Regions from separate parts of the Homo sapiens genome. Here region 1 is linked to region 2. The links are contacts of gene promoters, found by promoter capture Hi-C in human tissues and cell types (Jung and others, 2019). All regions are on one chromosome and are shown on one strand. Each heading gives the region's core, a stretch centred on a gene start or on the middle of the fragment in contact. The rest is flanking DNA. Distances are from core to core; before and after follow the strand shown. Region 1 has its middle 45 kb from the start of CDC25A. Region 2 holds the start of DHX30 (DExH-box helicase 30).

Region 1 (5,276 bases), core at 590-3,089, 340 kb after region 2:
TCCTGGCCAGCACTGTGGGAGGCTGAGGTGGGAGGATTGCCTGAGTTTGGGGAAGTTGAGGCTGCAGTGAGATCATGCCACTGCACGCCAGCCTGGGCAACAGTGTGACACCCCATATGAAAAAAACAAAAAAACTGTTGGATGAAGTTTTCTGTAAATATTAATAGTTATTTTAGTTGTCTCTTGGCTTTGGCCAGCACCTTTGGGGAGTATCTCCCAGGCTGTCTGTGGTTCACCAAAATCATGTGGAAAAGGAAGGGGCTCCATTCACTCACTTCCATAGTGATACCCAGGGTGAGAGTGCTCCATAGAGCACTCCCCCGACAGGCAGGCTGCTGAGGGAAGACTTCCTGGAGGGCAAGAGGCCTAGATGACCCAACTAGGAAGAGAGGGAGAAGTGGAGGGGTAGAGTGGGAGATGAGCTCAGGAATGAGGGCAGGGTCTGGTGGAGGCTGCTTGGAGAGGCCACTCAGAGGGAAGAATACCTGCTCCTGGCTCTGCCTGTCACCTCTTGGTTCCTTGTTTCCTCATCTGCCTCAGCAGGCTTCTCTGACCGGGTGGTGGGCAGTGGGAGAGGGTGGAGGAACGACCTTCGCCTCAGCCAGAGTATGGGGCAGGCCCTCTGTGGGGACAGCTGCTTCATGGCTTAGCCTTAGCTGATTATGGTGGCCTCACCATGCCTGTCTGTCCATCTGGAAAATGGGCTCAATAATGGTATCTGCCTCATAGGGTTTCACGAGGACTCGAGGGAGATGACTTTTGCTGCTGTCTTGATTTTGTCTGTTGTTTTTGTAGTTACACAGAGGATAACAGATGAATCAGACACTGAACCTGCCCAACCCTATGTGCTGGACTCATCATAATCATACCTGGGACTTTTGAGAACTTACTGGAACTGTGCTACGTACCCTATATGTATTAAGTCATTTAATTTCCTTTCCTTCCTTCCTTCCTTCCTTCCTTCCTTCCTTCCTTCCTTCCAGACAGAGTCTCGCTTTGTCGCCCAGGCTGGAGTGCAGTGGCACGATCTCAGCTCACTGCAACCTCCGCCTCCCGGGTTCAACCGATTCTTCTGCCTCAGCCTCCCAAGTAGCTGGGATTACAGGAATATGCCACCACGCCCAGCTTATTTTTATATGTTTAGTAGAGATGGGGTTTCACCATATTGGACAGGCTGGTCTAAGTCATTTAATTTTCAAACCACCCTGCTATTTATCCACACTTTACAGATAATGAATCTGAAGTTTCCATCCACCCATCCCCTCCTCCGCTCAGGCGCTCACCAAATCTTACACTCATGAGGTGCTCAGTAGCCTGTGCTTTGGGGCAGCCCACACTTCTTAGCACACCTGGCCCTCCTGACCCAGCCAGATGTCTGGGCAGGCCTCGGAGCTCCCAGACCAGTCACCGCACCCTGTTTCAGCCGCACCTGGCCACCTTCCCTCCCCCGCTGGGTAGCTTGGCAGCTGCCAAGGCTCCTCATTCTTCCTCCTGCACACCCAGCTGTTTGGGCACTGGCAAATGCCAGGCAGGTGAGGTGCCTCAGCTTCCATCGGCCCTGCTACCCTTGCCCTCGAGGTGCAGCATAGGCGTGGGGTGGGGAGCAGGGGAGAGACAGGGTGTCTCCCAAGCTCAGGAGCGCTGAGACTAGACTGCAGCTGAATCACAGCATTAACCCATCTAGAACCAGGGCTCAGGAGAACAAAAATGCCTGTGCATGGCCAGCTGGATCGAGGGAGAGACATGATGCCCAAGAACCTGAGTACCCAGGAGGTGCCCTCTGCCCAGATGTGGGAACAATTTCTCTCACTCATCAAACTTAGATCAAGTGGCCCCAATCTCTTCCTTTATTCTCAACTATTGGTTCAGGACCCATCATGAGGTCAGGAAGGAGAGGGAAAGCAGGGTCTTCCTGCCATAAATTAGTACATTAAGTCTTTCTTTCTTTCTTTCTTTTTTTTGACAGTCTCACTCCATCGCCCAGGCTGGAGTGCAGTGGCACCATCTCGACTCACTGCAACCTCCACCTCCGGCGTTTAAGCGATTCTCCTGCCTCAGCCTCCTGAGTAGCTGGGATTTCAGGCGCCCAGCACCACGCCTAGCTAATTTTTGTATTTTTTAGTAGAGACAGGGTTTCGCCATGTTGGCCAGACTGGTCTCGAGCTCCTGGCCTCAAGTGATCCACCTGCCTCGGCCTCCCAAAGTGCTGGGATTACAAGTGTAAGCCACTGCGCCCAGCCAGAAATTAAGTCTCATAGAAATTCAATGTTGGGCCGGCGCGGTGGCTCATGCCTGTAATCCCAGCATTTTGGGAGGACGAGGAGGGTGGATCACCTTTAGTCTCTACTAAAAATACAAAAATTAGCTGGGCGTGGTGGCCCATGGCTGTAATTCCAGCTACTCGGGAGGCTGAGGCAAGAAGAATCGCTTGAATCTGGGAGGCAGAGGTTACAGTGAACTGAGACCGCACCACTGCACTCCAGCCTGGGTGACAAGAGCAAAACTCCGTCTCAAAAAAAAAAAAAGAAAGAAAGAAGAAGAAATTTAATGTTGGTGTCACCAAGAGATTGCTTCTGGACTCAGTAAATTGAAGCCCAAATTTGGAACTGAAGGCCAGAGGTGAGCAACCTGTCCCAGTGCTCTGCAAGGCGGCCGATGCCAAGCCAGCACCCTTCCCACCATTCTGTGCTGCTTTGTGTTAGAGGAAGGAAATGTCCTGTGTGAATGTACTTTTAACAAAAAGAGAAGACAAAAATAGCCAAAGAATGCTATAAAGGACCCTGAAAATAATCTCCCATTTGTTCAGGGACCACTGAGTTCCTTGGTGGGGTGGACCCAGTGTCCTGCAGAAAGGAGACAATGGCTCAGGCCTTCAAGGATTTTCTTCCCTCCAGACCCACTCCTGTGGGGCTCTTTCCATCGGGGCTCAGGCCTGGGGGTGTTTCCTCACCCCAGTATTCCTGGAAACTCCACCTATCCCACAATTTCCCTGTCTCACTCACCATTCTGCAGCCAGAGGCAGGGCTTGTCAGTGAGGTAGGTGGGGCCAGAGCAGAGGCTTCATGTTTGGTGGCAGCAGGAGTTACCAGGCTAAGGCCTGGAAAGTCCAACACAGAGCTCTGTCCCTATCACTAACTCTGAAGCTCGCGCTCGGTGGCTTCCTGAAATTTCCCCTTCCAACTTCCCACCAGTCAGCCTACTCTCCACCTCCCTGAGAAGCAAGCTCAGCAGCCCATCTCTTGAGAAGGTGACTTGAAAGTGGGAGAAAGTCAAGAAAGAGTCTAGGCCACCAGACGCGGTGGCTCACGCCTGTAATCCCAGCACTTTGGGAGGCCGAGGAGGTCAAATCACCTGAGGTCAGGAGTTCGAGACCAGCCTGACCAACATGGAGAAACCCCATCTCTACTAAAAATACAAAATTAGCCGGGCATGGTGGCGCATCCCTGTAATCCTAGCTACGCAGGAGGCTGAGGCAGGAAAATCGCTTGAACCTGGGAGGTGGAGGTTGCAGTGAGCCGAGATTGCACCACTGCACTCCAGCCTGGGTGACAGAGTGAGTCTCAAAAAAAAAAAAAAAAAAGAAAGAAAGAAAGAAAGAAAGAAAAGAAAAACAAAGAGTCTGGCCTTAGAACCTGAAGCCCAAACATCTACTTCCGTCTCTGCTGTTTGTTAACTGAGTACCGGAAGCAACTCACCCACCTCCATGAGTATGAGTGTTTGCATCCATAAAATGAGGGTGAATTCCATCCTGTGAGAATCAAATGAAAATGGCCACATAGAAGAGAAAACAGCATCCCCAAAGTTAGTCCTCAGGAACTTAAGTCCAATGAGATACTCCATGGAGAAAAGTCTCCATGGGCAAATAGGTTTGGAAAATGCTCTGTCGTCTCTTGAAATTCATGATGCATGCTGGCAGGCCAAGCGCTCTGAGAAACCCTGCAATAAAGAGAACAGGTGAAAATTGTTTAACTACAGGTGTGTACCACCACACCCAGCTAATTTTTTGTATTTTTAGCAGAGACAGGGTTTCGCCATATTGCCCAGACTGGTCTTGAACTCTTGGCCTCAAGTGATTCTCCTGCCTTGGCCTCCCAAAGAGCTAGGATTACAGGTGTGAGCCACCGTGCCTGGCCATATCATGCCATTTATATAAGCGATTTGAGCGTCTTTGGATTTTGATATCAGTGGGGGTCCTGGAACCAACTCCCCACAGATACCAAGGGACAACTGTATTATTCAAATATATCTAAGTTATTCTAACATATGTTTTTTTTTTTTCTTTTTTCTTTGAGATGGAGTCTCGCTCTGTAGCCCAGGCTGGAGTGCAGTGGAGTGATCTAAGGTCACTGCAAGCTCTGCCTCCCGGGTTCATGCCATTCTCCTGCCTCAGCCTCTGAGTAGCTGGGACTACAGGTGCCCGCCACCACGCCCAGCTAATTTTTTGTACTTTTAGGAGAGATGGGATTTCACTGTGTTAGCCAGCATGGTCTCAATCTCCTGACCTCGTGATCCACCTGCTTTGGCCTCCCAAAGTGCTGGGATTACAGGCGTAGGCCACCGCGCCCGGCCTCTAACATATGTTTTATGCTGCTATAACAGAATACATGAGACTGTAATTTATTTACATTTATTTAAAATAGAGACAGGGGTCTCACTATGTTGCTCAGGCTGCTCTTGAAATCCTGGGCTCAAGCAATCGTCCTGCCTCAGCCTCCCAAAGCACTGGGATTACAGGTGTGAGCCACCACACCCAGCTGAGACTATAATTTATTTATTTATTTATTTAAATTTTCAATTTTTTTGTGGGTACATAGTAGGTGTATATATTTACAAGGTACATGAAGTGTTTTGATACAGGCATGCAATGTGAAATAAGTGCATCATGGGGAATAGAGTGCCCATCCCCTCAAGCATGAGACTGTAATTTTTTTTTTTTTTGAGATGGAGTCTCACTCTGTCGCCCAGGCTGGAGTGCAATGGTGTGATCTTGGCTCACTCCACCCACCCCCTCCGGGTTCAAGTGATTCTCCTGCCTTAGCTTCCCAAGTAGCTGGGATTACAGGCGCCTGCCACCATACCTGGCTAATTTTTGTATTTTTACTAGAGATGGGGTTTTGCCATTTTTTTTTTAGATGGGATTTCGCTTTTTGTTGCTCAGGCTGGAGTGCAATGGCACGATCTCGGCTCACTGCAACCTCCGCCTCCCAGGTTCAAGGGATTCTCCTGTCTCAGCCTCCCCAGTAGCTGGGATTACAGGTGCCCGCCACCACGTCCGG
Region 2 (5,392 bases), core at 2,428-4,927:
CTCGCTCCGTTGCCCAGGTTAGAGTGCAATGGCGTGATCTCGGCTCACTGCAAACTCTACCTCGCAGGTTCAAGCGATTCTCCTGCCTCAGCCTCCTGAACAGCTGGGATTACAGGCATGTGCCACCACGCCCGGCTAATTTTTGTATTTTAGTAGAGACAGGGTTTCACCATGTTGGTCAGGCTGGTCTCGAACTCCTGATCTTGTGATTCGCCTGCCTTGGCTTCCCAAAGTGCTGGGATTACAGGCATGAGCCACCACGTCTGGCCGATCCTCCCATGTTATCCTCCTGAGCAGCTGGGACTACAGGCGCATGTCACCAAACCCAGCTACTTTTAGTATTTTTGTAGAGAGGAGTCTCGCCTTGTTGCCCAGGCTGATCTCAAATTCCTGGGCTCAACTGACCTGCCCATCTCAGCCTCCTGAAGGGCTGGGATTTCAGGCTTGAGCCACTGTGCCTGTGGGAGATGTCTATTCAAGTATTTTGCCCCCTACTGGCCTACAGGAGCCTCTTTTGGAGTGCATCCACTTGGTCTTGAATTTTTGTTTTTTTGTTTGTTTGTTTGTTTGTTTTGAGATGGAGTTTCGCACTTGTTGCCCAGGCTGAGTGCAATGGCATGATCTTGGCTCACTGCAACCTCCGCCTCTTGGGTTCAAGTGATTCTCCTGCCTCAGCCTCCCGAGTAACTGGGATTACAGGCATGTGCCACCATGCCCGATTAATTGTGTATTTTTAGTAGAGATGGGGTTTCTCCATGTTGGTCAGGCTGGTCTTGAACTCCTGACCTCAGGTGACCCGCCTGCCTGGGCCTCCAAAGTGCTGGGATTACAGGCATGAGCCACCACACCTGGCCTTAGGTCTTGATTTATTTGTGGCTGGGCATAGTGGGTCACACCTGTAATCTCAGGAGTTTGGGAGGCTGAAGTGGGAGGATCGCTTGAGGCCAGGAGTTTGAGGTCAACCTAGGGTATCATAGTGAGACCCTTTCTCTACAAAAAATAAAAAATTATCTGGGCGTGGTGGCATGTGCCTGTAGTCCCAGCTACTCAGGAAACTGAGGAGGGAGGATTAATTGAGCCTGGGAGGTTAAGGCTGCAATAAGCCATGATGGTGCCACTGCACTCCAGCCTGGGTGACAGAGTGAGACCCTGTCTCAAAAAAAAAACAACAAAAAAAAGACATTTGCATGCTATTCTCATCCTCTCTACCAGACTATAACTTTCTTTGGAGCAGGGACCACGACTTTATCACTTAACTTTCCCAACAACATTGCAAACATAATCTGAGTGAAGCTGAATCCATCATCTTTTCCAACTCTTGTGTCCCTTAATTATGTTAATAGTACATAATCCTTTCAGTCACTATGGTACAGATCTCAAAGTCATCTCTCCACACACTTGTGGCCTGGGCTCAGTCTGCTGCTCAACAGTCACCCCCCCTTTTTTTTCTTTCTTGCTTTTCTCACTGTTGAGTTAAATCTTTCATTCTCTCTCGGGATCTAATTAGCATGCTAGTTTCTATTTTCCCAGCTGATTCAACCCTTTCACTTCCAGAGGAAGCTTTCTAAATTACAGTATTGGCCCAGCGTGGTGGCTCACGCCTGTAATCCCAACACTTTGGGAGGCCAAAGTGTGTGGACCACTTGAGGCCAAGAGTTCGAGGCCAGCCTGGCCAACATGGTGAAACCATCCCTAGTAAAAATACAAAAATGAGCTGGGCATGGTAGTGCACACCTGTAATTCCAGCTACTTGGGAGGCTGAGGCAGGAGAATCGCTTGAACGTGGGAGGTAGAGGTTGCAGTGAGCCGCAACCACCCCACTGCACTCCAGCCTGGGTGACTGAGTAGAGACTCTGTCTCAACAACAACAAAAAAGTGCAGTATTTTACTCTCCTAATAATTTTTTAAATGTCTTACCAAAAAAAGTAAAAATTCCTTAGTATGGCACTCCCCAACAGTTTTTCAGTTCTATTTCCTGTAAAGCTTGCACACACATCCAACCCTGTGGTCACACTGAACTACTGAATATTCCTAGGATTTGTCCCTTGTTCCACTCGTATGTCTTTGTTCACGTTCCTTTCATTTTGCCATTCAGGAGTAACCACTCCTTTCTCTGAACTCTTGGAGTACCTAATACCTCCTTTCCAGCATTTACCACTTTCCATTTCCTTCACACAATGTTGTCATCTTCTCTACTAGGCTCTAAGTCCCTTGAGGCAGGGCCTTTGTAGCCTCCACACCAGCTTAGCAACTGATACACAGAGCACTCAGATGTCCGTGCAGGGATCTCTCTATTCTCCACACAACACAGCACCATGCCCTGTTCAGATGCACTAATTATTTGAATGAATAAATGATGTTCCACCCCCACACCCCGGTCTTCTAGCCAATGTAGAGAGAAAGAAAAGAGATACATGTTGAACTGTTTGCACACAAAAGTGACGGGATATGGCACTAATTCTTCATACAGCCTCAAAGGTCACATCTTTTTTTTTTTTTTTTTTTAAGTTTCATTCTTGTCGCCCAGGCTGGAGTTCAATGACACGATCTCGGCTTACTGCAACATCCGCCTCCCGGGTTCAAGTGATTCTCCTGCCTCAGCCTCCCGAAGTAGCTAGGATTATATGCGCCCGCCACCACGCCCAGCTAATTTTTTTGCATTTTTAGTTGAGACGGGGTTTCACCATGTTGGCCAGGCTGGTTTTGAACTCCTGACCGCAGGTGATCCACCCGCCTTGGCCTCCCAAAGTGCTGGGATTACAGGCGTGAGCCACCACGCCCGGCCTAAAGGCCACATCTTAAAACCATACTCTGTAAAATCCTGACCCAGCTTCAGAGCTACGCCACTGCGTTGTTTCCTTTTGAAGCTGAATTCCACTGAACCTATACTTGAACCTTATCTAGAGGACTACAGCGTGTAATTGGGACAATCCCCTTTCTCATTCCTAAGAGGTGATGTGGCCGGGCGGACCTCCAGATTTCCAGCAACTATGACTGGCACTCTCCCCGCGACCAGCAAGTGCCACCTTGTCCTTTGCCTAACGTTGTACAGTTTACGAAATCAACGAACCAACACGTTGATTTCATCTTCCCTGCAAACTGGGGAGACAAGACAAAAATGCTCACCTCCCTAAAAAAACAGATTAGAGGGGAGATGGGGAAGAGAAGAGGCGTGGCTACGAGCTGTGGCGGGGAAGGCGGGTGGAATCCCGGAGCCCGAGCTGGAAACCGTTCCCCGCTCAGCCATGACCCGGGCTGTTTATTCGCATCAGGAGGCGCGGGTGGCTCGCAGAGGGCGAGAAGACCCTTCCCGCTTTCACACTGCAGGCAGCTAAGTCGCCGAGAAAGGCAGCAACTTGACGCCCGACCCCGCCACCCAAACCCGCTCGCTCTGCGACCCCAGAGCAGCCGGCGCCAACCCGTCCCCTTCGCGACTCCGCCGGAAGTCCCGCCTGCACCGCCGCCGCGCCCCATTGGGCCGGGTGCTGGGGCATCCCGGGCGCTGGGTGCCCCGAGCGGCTACGACGAGTCCCAGGTGGGGCCGGGCTCCAGGCCCGCGGGGGAGCGGAGCCGTGCGCCGCAGGCGGGCTCCGTGACGCCGGGTGGGGAACGCCGGGCCGGTGGCGGGACTTCCGCCACGGGACTCGGAAGGGGCCGCGCCGCCGCTGCTGGGAGTTGTAGTCCGGCCGTGGTTGGGGGAGCCGCGGCTCATGCGCGGTGCACAGAGGCTTGTTTCACATCTGTAACAACAGGTGAATTGGGCTTTTTATTCTCCCCTTTCGTGCCCTCTTGAGGAGCCTGCCGCGGCCGGGGGTGGTCGTCGTGAGGAGGGGGCCCGGTCCGACCGCCAGCCTGGCGGAGAGTGGGGCGGAGACGCCGGCGGGCCCGAGGAGCAGGCCGGGCATCCTAGGCCTGCCCGGGAAGCCGGCCCGGCCGATCCGTGGGCAGCCAGGCCTCGGCCTGCCGTTGCCATGGAGCCCGGGCGGGGGCGGGGGCCAGACCGGTCCGCCGGGGCGGGCCTCGCAGCCAGGGGCTCCGCGGAGGCCGTGGGAGAGGCCGCTTCATTGGCGCAACGACGCCTTCGCCTCGGGATGCGCCGTTTCCCCAGGCAGGGCCTGGAGGAAGCCTCCTGAGTGCCCCGAGACCTTTGTCTACTTCTCCTCCTTCCCGGTGCTGCCCGGACCGTTCGTCCAGAGGGAGGCCCGGTGCCTTCTGGCCCCCCTAGTTTGCCCCCTTTTGCACCGACCTTGTCACTGGGGGAGGCCAAGGGGTGAGGTATTCTTTGTTTGCTGGTGGTAACTTGTCCCATTTAGCAGGGGAAGACCAAATGCATGTTGGGTCCTTTGTTTGCAGTGAACTGGAGTCCCAGGGGTCCTCAGAAACCCTAAGCCAGGGATATGGCATATCTAGTCGTTGTGTAGCAACATTGGTCACTTGAATTATGATTTTTCAAGGCAGAGGCTGTTTCACTTTACAACCCCACTCCATGAGGGTTTGCCATACACTAGCAGGTAGACTGCAGAAGGCCACTTACAGGCTTTCAACCTGGTTTTAGTTGCAGCTTATGGGCCAGAGTGAAATGAGACGTTGTCTGGTGATTTCCCTTGAAGTTTCTTGCAAGGTGGTAACCCCACTGTCATTGTGGGTTTTAACTACATCTTGTAATTTACACTTAAATCTTAGAGATTTAAGGCGATGTGCAGAAACTACATCCTTTGCTGCGTTTTCTACCGGTGTTGGCTCTTTATCCCTAAAAGATAGTTGCTCTTCAAGTGTTTTAATTTATGTAGCTGTGATACAAAGTTTTATTAGGGCCGGGAGCGGTGTCTCACGCCTGTAATCCCAGCACTTTGGGAGGCCGAGGCGGGTGGATCACCTGAGGTCAGAAGTTTGAGACCAGCCTGGCCAACATGGCTAGACCTCGTTTCTACTAAAAATACAAAAATTAGCCGGGCATGGTGGCGTGCGCCTGTAACCCTAGCTACTTGGGAGGCTGAGGCAAGAGAATTGCTTGAACCCAGGAGGCCGAGGTTGCAGTGAGCCAAGATCGCGCCATTTCACCCCAGCCTGGGCAACAAGAGCGAAACTCCTTCTCAAAACAAAACAAAACAAAAACCACACACAAGTTTTATTAGCTGTTGGACCTTTCTTGCCCCTTTCAGCCTTTGAAGATAACAGTATAATATGTCTCAAGGAATGAACCGTAGTACATTTAGGCAACAGCATAATATCCTGGAAATAAGAAAATTAGCCTAGTATAAGCATGGAGGGTTTTGGAGTCAGCATGCTTCAATGCTGATTTCCATCTGCCCTGAGGCAGCTATGGGATCTTGGGCAGGTTGTGTAACCTGTGCTTCAGTTTTCTTCTCTGGAAAGATAATTCCTACCTCAC

What was found. The method cuts DNA at HindIII sites, captures the fragments that hold promoters and counts their contacts. A contact is called where the count stands out against the background at its distance.
Region 1: a contact is called between a fragment that was not itself captured here and the fragment with the promoter of DHX30 in region 2, in 2 of the 25 tissues and cell types used here (liver and lymphoblastoid cells).

Annotation. Positions count from the first base shown.
Region 1 is chr3:48,141,096-48,146,371 of GRCh38, forward strand. No RefSeq gene overlaps it. Among named protein-coding and RNA genes, the nearest start is that of CDC25A, 45 kb to the right of the region's middle. The HindIII fragment of the contact is 7,474 bases long and covers 1-5,276 here.
Region 2 is chr3:47,799,461-47,804,852 of GRCh38, forward strand. It overlaps DHX30 (DExH-box helicase 30), which reads left to right and starts at 3,678. Exons shown (of 22, transcript NM_138615.3): 1 at 3,678-3,752. RefSeq lists silencers at 3,249-4,098, 5,276-5,392 and an enhancer at 3,823-4,348. The HindIII fragment of the contact is 11,371 bases long and covers 1,772-5,392 here.